2 separate regions of the Homo sapiens genome follow, and region 1 is linked to region 2. The links are contacts of gene promoters, found by promoter capture Hi-C in human tissues and cell types (Jung and others, 2019). All regions are on one chromosome and are shown on one strand. The core of a region is centred on a gene start or on the middle of the fragment in contact, and the rest is flanking DNA. Distances in the headings are between cores, read along the strand shown. Region 1 has its middle 20 kb from the start of DHRS4L2. Region 2 holds the start of DHRS4 (dehydrogenase/reductase 4).

Region 1 (4,446 bases), core at 1,392-3,891, 56 kb after region 2:
GGCGACACACGCTGAGCCTCTCACACCGACGGGCCTCTCACGCCGGAGCCGGCAAGAAAGGTCGGCGCCAGCCCGCGGGCTCTCAGGAGGCTCGGCAGCGCGACGCGCATGCTCAGTCGGGCAGCTCTCCGGGCCGGCGTGGGAGCCCGCGCTCCAAAGCCCGGTGGGGGGAGGGGCGCTCACGCAACCGCCACTGTCTGGAGCGGGCTCGCCTCTGCGGCGGCACTCACCGCCCGGGCTTTACTGAAGCGGAGTCTAGCATGTGCGGCTGCTCCACAGCGGTGTGGGTGGCGGCGGCTCCTCTGCAGCAGCCTCGGCAGTAGGGGTCACGGTGGCCAAGCCCACCGTGGAGCTCATCTGAGAGTTGTAAGGTACGGGACTGCCTCGGTCTTTGGGACGCCCCGTCTGGTAGCATCCCAGATCCAGCACGTTCCTTCCGGCCCTGCACCCCGGCCCGGTGCCTCACACCCCGCTACCCCATGCATCCAGACTCTAAGGCAGCCCCTGCATCTCAGTCCTGACATCGCTGTCCCTGGAGCATCCTCCGCTGGAGCTGGAGCTTGACAGGTAGGGTGGAGAGGGCCGTGGGGGGGGTGCGGAAACTGCATCAATTAACGGGGCCGTGGGGGAGGGAAGTCCTCCATTGCTAAGGCTTCAGTAGGCGTTCTATGATCACAGTGTAAACAAAGCTGCAGGGAAGCTCTAACTGGGCGGAACCCACCGCAGCTCAGCAAGGCCTACTGCCTCTCCAGATTCCACCTCAGGGGCCAGGGCATATCTGAGCAAAAGGCAGCAGACAGCTTCTGCAGACTTCAGTGTCCTTGCCTGACATCTCTAAAGACAGCAGTGGTTCTCCCAGCACGGAGTTCGTGCTCCGATAACGGACAGACTGCCTCCCCAAGTGGGTCCCTGACCCCCATGTAGCTTGACTGAAAAACACCGCCCAGTAGGGGCAGAGAGACACCTCATACAGGTGGGTGCCCCTGTGGAACAAAGCTTCCAGAAGAAGGATCAGGCAGCAATATTTGCTGTTCTGCAGCCTCCTCTACTGATACCCAAGAAAATAAGGTCTGGAATGGACTTCCAGCAAACCCCCAAAGACCTGCAGCTGAGGGGCCTGTTAGAAGGAAAACTAACAAACAGAAAGGAATAGCATCAACATCAGCAAAGGACAGCATCAACATCAGAACAGGAAAGGACATCCACACTAAAACCCCATCCATAGGTCACCAACATCAAAGACCAAAGGTAGATAAAACCACAAAGATGGAGAGAAACCAGAGCAAAAAGGCTGAAACTTCCAGAAATCAGAACGTCTCTTCTCTTCCAAAGGAATACAAGTCCTCACCAGCAAGGGAACAAAACTGGATGGAGAATAAGTTTGATGACTTGACAGACGTAAGCTTCAGAAGGTCAGTAATAACAAACTACACCCAGCTAAAGGAGCATGTTCTAACCCATTGCAAGGAAGCTAAAAACCTTGACAAAATGTTAAACGAATGGCTAACTAGAATGAAGAATCTAGAGAAGAGCTTAAATGACCTGATGGAGCTGATAACCACAGTACAAGAACTTCATGAAGGATACACAAGCTTCAATAGCTGATTCAATCAAGTGGAAGAAAGGATATCAGTGATTGAATATAAAATTAATGAAATAAAGTGAGAACACAAGATTAGAGACAAGAAAAGAAAAAAGAAACATTCAAATTCAGGAAATACAGAGAACATCACAAAGACACTCCTTGAGAAGAGCAACCCCAAGACACATAATTGTCAGATTCAGCAAGGTTAAGGGCAGCCAGAGAGAAAGGTTGGGTTACCAACAAAGGGAAGCCCATCAGACTAACAGCAGATCTCTCAGCAGAAACCATACAAACCAGAAGAGAGTCGGGACCAATATTCAACATTCTGAAAGAAAAGATTTTTGGAACTAGAATTTCATATCCAGCCAAACTAAGCTTCGTAAGTGAAGGAGAAATAAAATCCTTTACAGACAAGCAGATGCTGAGAGAGTTTGTCACCACCAGGCCTGCCTTACAATAAGAGCTCCTGAAGGAAGCACTAAACATGGAAAGGAACAACCAGTACCAGCCACTGCAAAAACATACGAAATTGTAAAGACCATTGATGCTATGAAGAAACTGCATCAATTAATGGGCAAAATAACCAGCTAACGTCATGACAGGATCAAATTCACATATAACAATACTAACCTTCAATGTAAATGGGATAAATGCCCCAATTAAAAGACACTGACTGGCAAATTGGATAAAGAATCAAGACCCATATGGTGTGCTGTATTCAGGAGACCCAATCTCACGTGCAAAGACACACATAGGCTCAAAATGAAGGTGTGTCTGGAATTGGTGGGTTCTTGGTCTCACTGACTTCAAGAATGAAGCCACGGACCCTCGCAGTGAGTGTTACAGTCCTTAAAGGCAGCGTGTCCGGAGTTTGTTCCTTCTGATGTTCAGACACGTTCAGAGTTTTTTCCTTCTGGTGGGTTCGTGGTCTCGCTGGCTTCAGGAGTGAAGCTGCGGACCTTCACAGTGAGTGTTACAGCTCTTAAGGCGGCATGTCTGGAGTTGTTCGTTCCTCCCATCCGGAGTTGTTCATTCCTCCCACTGGGTTCGTGGCCTCACTGGCCTCAGGAGTGAAGCTGCAGACCTTCACGATGAGTGTTACAGCTCATAAAGGCCGTGTGGACCCAAAGAGTGAGGGGCAGCAAGATTTATTGCAAAGAGCGAAAGAACAAAGCTTCCACAGTGTGGAAGGGGACCCAAGCAGGTTGCTACTGTTTGAAGGGGTGGCTTGCCCCTCCACACCTGTGGGTATTTCTAGTCAGGTGGGACGAGAGACTGAGAAAGAGAAATAAGACACAGAGACAAAGTATAGAGAAACAACAGTGAGCCCAGGGGACCGGCGCTCAGCATACCAAGGACTTGCACCGGCACCGGTCTCTGAGTTCCCTCAGTTTTTATTGATTATTATCGTCATTATTTCAGTAAAAAGGAATGTAGTAGGAGGGCAGGGTGATAATAAGGAGAAGGTCAGCAACAAACGTGAGCAATAGAATCTAATAATTCAGTTCAAGGGAAGGTACTATGACTGGACATGCACGTAAGCCAGATTTATGTTTCTCTCCACCCAAACATCTCGGTGGAGTAAAGAATAACGAGGCAGCATTGCTGCAAACATGTCTCGCCTCCCACCATAGGGCGGTTTTTCTCTCATCTCAGAACTGAACAAATGTACAATCGGGATTTATACCGAGACTTTTAGTTCCCAGGAGCAGGCAGGAGACAGTGGCCTTCCTCTATCTCAACTGCAAGAGGCCTTCCTTTTTTACTAACCCACCGCAGCACAGACCCTTTATGGGTGTCGGGCTGGGGGACAGTCAGGTCTTTCTCATCCCAGGAGGCCATATTTCAGACTATCACATGGGGAGAAACCTTGGACAATACCCTGCTTTCAAGGGCAGAGGTCCCTGCGGCTTTCTGCAGTGCACTGTGCCCCTGGTTTATTGAGACTAGAGAATGGCGATGACTTTTACCAAGTATACTGCTTGTAAACATTTTGTTAACAAGGCACGTCCTACACAGTCCTAGATCCCTTAAACCTTGATTTCATACAACACATGTTCTTGTGAGCTCCAGGTTGGGTCAAAGTGGTTGGGTCAAAGTGGCTGGGGCAAAGCTAAAAATTAACAACATCTCAGAAAAGCAATTATTTAAAGTACAGGTCTTTTTCAAAATGTAGTCTCTTATGTCTTCCCTTTCTACATAGACACGGTAACAGTCTGATCTCTCTTTCTTTTCCCTACATATCCCCCTTTTCTTTTTGACAAAACTGTCATTGTCACCATGGCCTGTTTTTGCTGGTCACTGTCTTTCTGGAACTGCTGGATACACCTGTAGACTAACAATAGAGAGGGCAGACATACAAGGATTAATACAAAATTTGCAATAGTGGAATTTCCAATGGTTTTAACCCAAGTGATGGGGGCAAGAGGACAGTGTGGGTGCTCCGGCACCCAGGCAGTCTCCCTTCTCCTTTGTCTCTTAGTTGTTGTTTCTCATAGTTTTCAATCTTTCTCCTCACCTGCTCACTCGCACTTTTTGTTTCATTGTCTCCCTTCTCTTATGGTCTCTCTCTCTTTTTCTCTTTTTCTTCCTTTTACACTATTTCTTTTCCCAGTCTCACTTTCTGTGTCTCTCTCTGATCTCTGTCTTTCTCTTTTACATTATTTTTTTCCCCAGTCTCACCTTCTGTGTCTTTCTCTGATCTCTGTCTTTTCCAGTCTCTCTCTTACTCATTTTCTCCCTCTCTTTCTCTCTCTCTCTCTCTCTCTCTGTCTGTCATCCCGTGTCCTCTCTCCTTCACACTCAGTCTCTTTTTCTTTTTCTTTTTCTCCCTGGCTCTCCACATCTGCCGTTTTCTCTCC
Region 2 (3,995 bases), core at 1,359-3,858:
TGTAAGAACAATCCCATTGCCTGTTACAGTTCCCATTTCAAAGAGATACTCCCACATATGCATGTATTTCCCTGAAAGATTTCCCGTTATTTATTTATTTATTTATTTATTTATTTATTTATTTATTTAGATGGAGTCTTTCATTCTGCTGCCCAGGCTGGAGTGCAATGGCATGATTTTGGCTCACTGCAACCTCTGCCTCCCACGTTCAAGCAATTCTCCTGCCACAGCCTCCTGAGTAGCTGGGATTACAGGCACATGCCACCAGGCCCGGCTGGTTTTTGTATTTTTAGTAGAGATGAGGTTTCACCATGTTGGCCAGGCTGATCTCGAACTTCTGACCACGCCCAGCTAATTTTCGTATTGTTAGTAAAGAGGATTACAGGTGTGAGCCACCATGCCCAGCCCAAGATTTCCTGTTCTTATCTCCAATAAGCGAGCTTGATGAGGAGTAGTGCTAGAGAGTCCCATACTTCTTGACTTCCTTCCATCCTTTTCTGCTCACAGGCCCCCTCCCTAATGTCCCCTGTGCTCTCCACAAAAGAAATAGTGCTAGAGGCCAAATAGCAACCCTGCCCACACAAGGAAGGGCCATGTAATGTTCACCAAGCACCCAAGCCACAATTCTCTCTTCCCAGAATCCTTTGCTCTTTGAAGTGTAGTCTTCCTCACCTTCCTGCCAACCTCAGCCCCTGAGTCCACCTGTCTACCTCTGAAGAGAAGGGAAAGAGAGATCAAACGCCCCCTGCAGGCCTGTCCCTTTGAACCAAGCCCTGAGAACCCCCGCAGCCGTCCTCCTGTGTACCCTCCCCCAGCCGCACACACAGATGGAGAGCCCTGGGAAGGGTTCCCACAGTGCGTTAGCTCCAAACAGTGCAAGAGGACAAGCAGTGTGGCGCTTCCAGCCTCTGTCAATAATTCATGAGGCTCAGACTGAGGAGCACCAGTCAGAGTCAGCCTTCCCTGGACATGGGGAAAATTATACTGAAGCTCTCCTGTCTCATCGGGATCTGCTGAGTAGCAAAGCAGAGTATTGCAGCTGTAACTTCTTGGCTGAGGAAAACACTAGAATTCCAGTGCAGGCCGTTCTATTACTTGCTCACCATACACCCCCTTTTGAATGTTGAAACCCTTTTTCAGCTGCTCAGCTTACCTGCACATATACTAAATGAATCTTGAGCAAACATGAATTCTATTCAAAAGTCATGCCTAGAACTGGATTTCACAAACCAGGATTCTTTCCCCTTTAATTGTAGGGACTGGCATAAGGCTGCCAAACTGGTGATTTCACCAATAACACATCTCTAAACCTACCCATCTGCTTTCATCATCTTTTCTAAAAGAAAACACTAACACACACACACACACACAAAAAGAAGCAAACGTATACTCCACAATAAAGGACTGTTAAATAAGCTTAGCTTTATGAAACTCACTGTAATTGTTTCCTTTTCTCATTTTGCCTTGAACTAGTGAAAACGCTGCCATGAACCAGCACTGCTTCTCAGTCTGGCTTTGGAGGCCAGTGGGTTAAACCAATTCAGATGCTTGCATTTGGGTCTGTTGGGGCCTTTCTACACTGTACCATAAGCCATCCAGATTTCTTCATTCTCCCGGAAACCCAGGAGGGAGATCATTTCAGCCCACTTGGCAGAAGTGCAGACTGAAGTCTTGGACACAGAATTTATAGCTGGCAAGGACTTTATTCATCATCCATACCCTCAGTAATTTACAGATGAAGAGTCTGGCCCAGGGCACCAATAATAATCACTACATGGTGGCAGTAACTACTATGTGCTTAGTAGCTTACAGTTCATAAAGAGATTTTGCATTCAACAAATATTTATTGAACTAAGATGGCGGCTAAGACCTGGGGACAGAGTGGTTAGGGAGAACTTGAGTGCCCCGAGTTCTTTGCATTTCCACCACTGCTTGAGGGACTGTCCAGCCTCCTCGCTACCACTTAGCCCCTGTAAAGGAGGAAGTCCCTTTGTCAACGGACATGAGAATGCTGTTTGGCCAATGACCATAGTCTGCCCTCCAGGGCCCGTGAAGATGGAAGAGACCTTGGGCAGAGTGAAGGGCAGTGCCAGGCCTGGCGCAGCTACTCCCTATCACGTCTCTCTCCCAGGCTCTTCCAGCCTCACCTGGTGGACTCCATGGCGACCACAGGCCTCACCTCCATGGGCAGTCTCAAAACATTTGCCCTCCTGTGGGCTGTCACACACATAGACCCAGACTTTCTTGGAGAAGGAATTCTGAAGAAGCAAAAGCAACCAACTCAAAACCCCCACTTCCCAGAGAAGAAAAGGTGGGCAAGCAGATGCAGAAAGGCAGCAGCCAAAGCCTGCGGGTTCCTGCAAGGGCCAGGGGAGGGGCGAGCCCTACAGGCAACTTGAACGGAGAGCTCACCCGCCAGCCCGGAAAGGCAAGCCCCAGTCAGGCGGAAGGTAGATGGTGGAGGGGCGCCGCGGCGGATGGAGGTGCCCAGGGCCACAGACCGCTCACAGCGGTACCGGGGCGGGGAGCAGGGCGGGCAGGGAATCGGCCCGCCCTTCGTCCTGCCCCTCGCCCTACTCTGTCACCGCCCCTGGGAAGAGTGGAACCCATACTTGCTGGTCTGATCCATGCACAAGGCGGGGCTGCTAGGCCTCTGTGCCCGGGCTTGGAATTCGGTGCGGATGGCCAGCTCCGGGATGACCCGCCGGGACCCGCTCGCAAATAAGGTGGCCCTGGTAACGGCCTCCACCGACGGGTGAGTGCTCCGGCCGGAGTTTCTGAGGCCCTGGCTGCCTGGAAACAGGCACTGGCCTCTCATCCTCGGCCTCCGGTGCCCCTGTCCTCAGACCTTACACGCTGCCAAAGTCTGGCCCTGGAAAAAAGGTAGCCACGTGGTCCGCCTGAAGCCACTCCGAATCCCCTAGCCCTGGACCCTCCCTTGCCAGCCCTCCTGTCCCTGCTACCTCTGGCACAACTGTGCCACCTCTGTGCAGCCCTATCGATCTAGTCTCCCCAGTGTTCTGGGCTGCCCCAGTCAACCAGCGCCACCTAGCGTCTGGGAAGACCAGAAACTGGAAATCCAAGGAAATCTGGATTTCAAAATACTATCCCACGGCCTCCAGCACTTTGAAAATGTACCAGACATTCTATTTGGGCACCGGAAAGTCCCCCGGAACCCCTCCCCCTTACCTAGATGGGACACCAGAGCCATATGTCGAGATTTTTGTTTAGGTCGGTACATCTGGGCCGACCTTGCCCAGCCTGTTTCTCACCCACCATTCTTGTCTATCCTGGTCCTCATTTCTACAGGACTTTGCTAGATGCCAGCTCTTCACAAAACTAAAATACAAATGTAGGTAAAATGCTAATAGCTGACAAATGCAAAATGTGTAACTCTTCCTCCCAAGGCAATATTTACATTTTTGACCGGAGACCATCTTTTCACATGCACCCCAAAAAATAACTAAGGATAGAATTTTGAGAATGATGTAGACGAGTAAGAAAGAAACCTGGGGGCAGGGCTGTTCTGAGTGAGACCCTCAAATCACGGAAGTGGCTGCTGCTGCAAACCCAGCTCATTTCTCACCTCTCAGTCCCAAGAGGGGATGAAGCCTGTCACCCATGGTGGGAACTGTAGAAAGTGATGTCAGTTCTTGGGAACTGAGGCTGTGGTCCAGGTCATAATAAAAACAAGTAAAGGAATGCCAAAAATGGCCATGCCATTAAGCCTGTTTTACACATAGTAGGCACACGTAGGGGTTATATAGAGAAAGAGCCAGAATTCAAACCCGGGCAGTCTTAACTTCAGAGCTCATACTGTCGACCTCTTCCCCTGCACAGGCCTTAGCAGTCTTTGTCTCTTTCTGCTCACAGGATCGGCTTCGCCATCGCCCGGCGTTTGGCCCAGGACGGGGCCCATGTGGTCGTCAGCAGCCGGAAGCAGCAGAATGTGGACCAGGCGGTGGCCACGCTGCAGGGGGAGGGGCTGAGCGTGA

The links. Contacts are between HindIII fragments. The study calls those that stand out against the background at their distance.
Region 1: a fragment that was not itself captured here is called in contact with the fragment with the promoter of DHRS4 in region 2 in 7 of the 25 tissues and cell types used here (H1 embryonic stem cells, IMR-90 fibroblasts, adrenal gland and 4 more).

Annotation. Positions count from the first base shown.
Region 1 is chr14:24,006,895-24,011,340 of GRCh38, forward strand. It overlaps the pseudogene DHRS4L1. Among named protein-coding and RNA genes, the nearest start is that of DHRS4L2, 20 kb to the left of the region's middle. The HindIII fragment of the contact is 5,422 bases long and covers 1-4,446 here.
Region 2 is chr14:23,951,162-23,955,156 of GRCh38, forward strand. It overlaps DHRS4 (dehydrogenase/reductase 4), which reads left to right and starts at 2,609. Exons shown (of 8, transcript NM_021004.4): 1 at 2,609-2,755; 2 at 3,874-3,995. The coding sequence starts at 2,628. DHRS4-AS1 (DHRS4 antisense RNA 1) reads right to left here and starts at 3,951. Exons shown (of 2, transcript NR_023922.2): 1 at 3,587-3,951. RefSeq lists enhancers at 2,131-2,330, 2,941-3,070, 3,121-3,250. The HindIII fragment of the contact is 7,990 bases long and covers 1-3,995 here.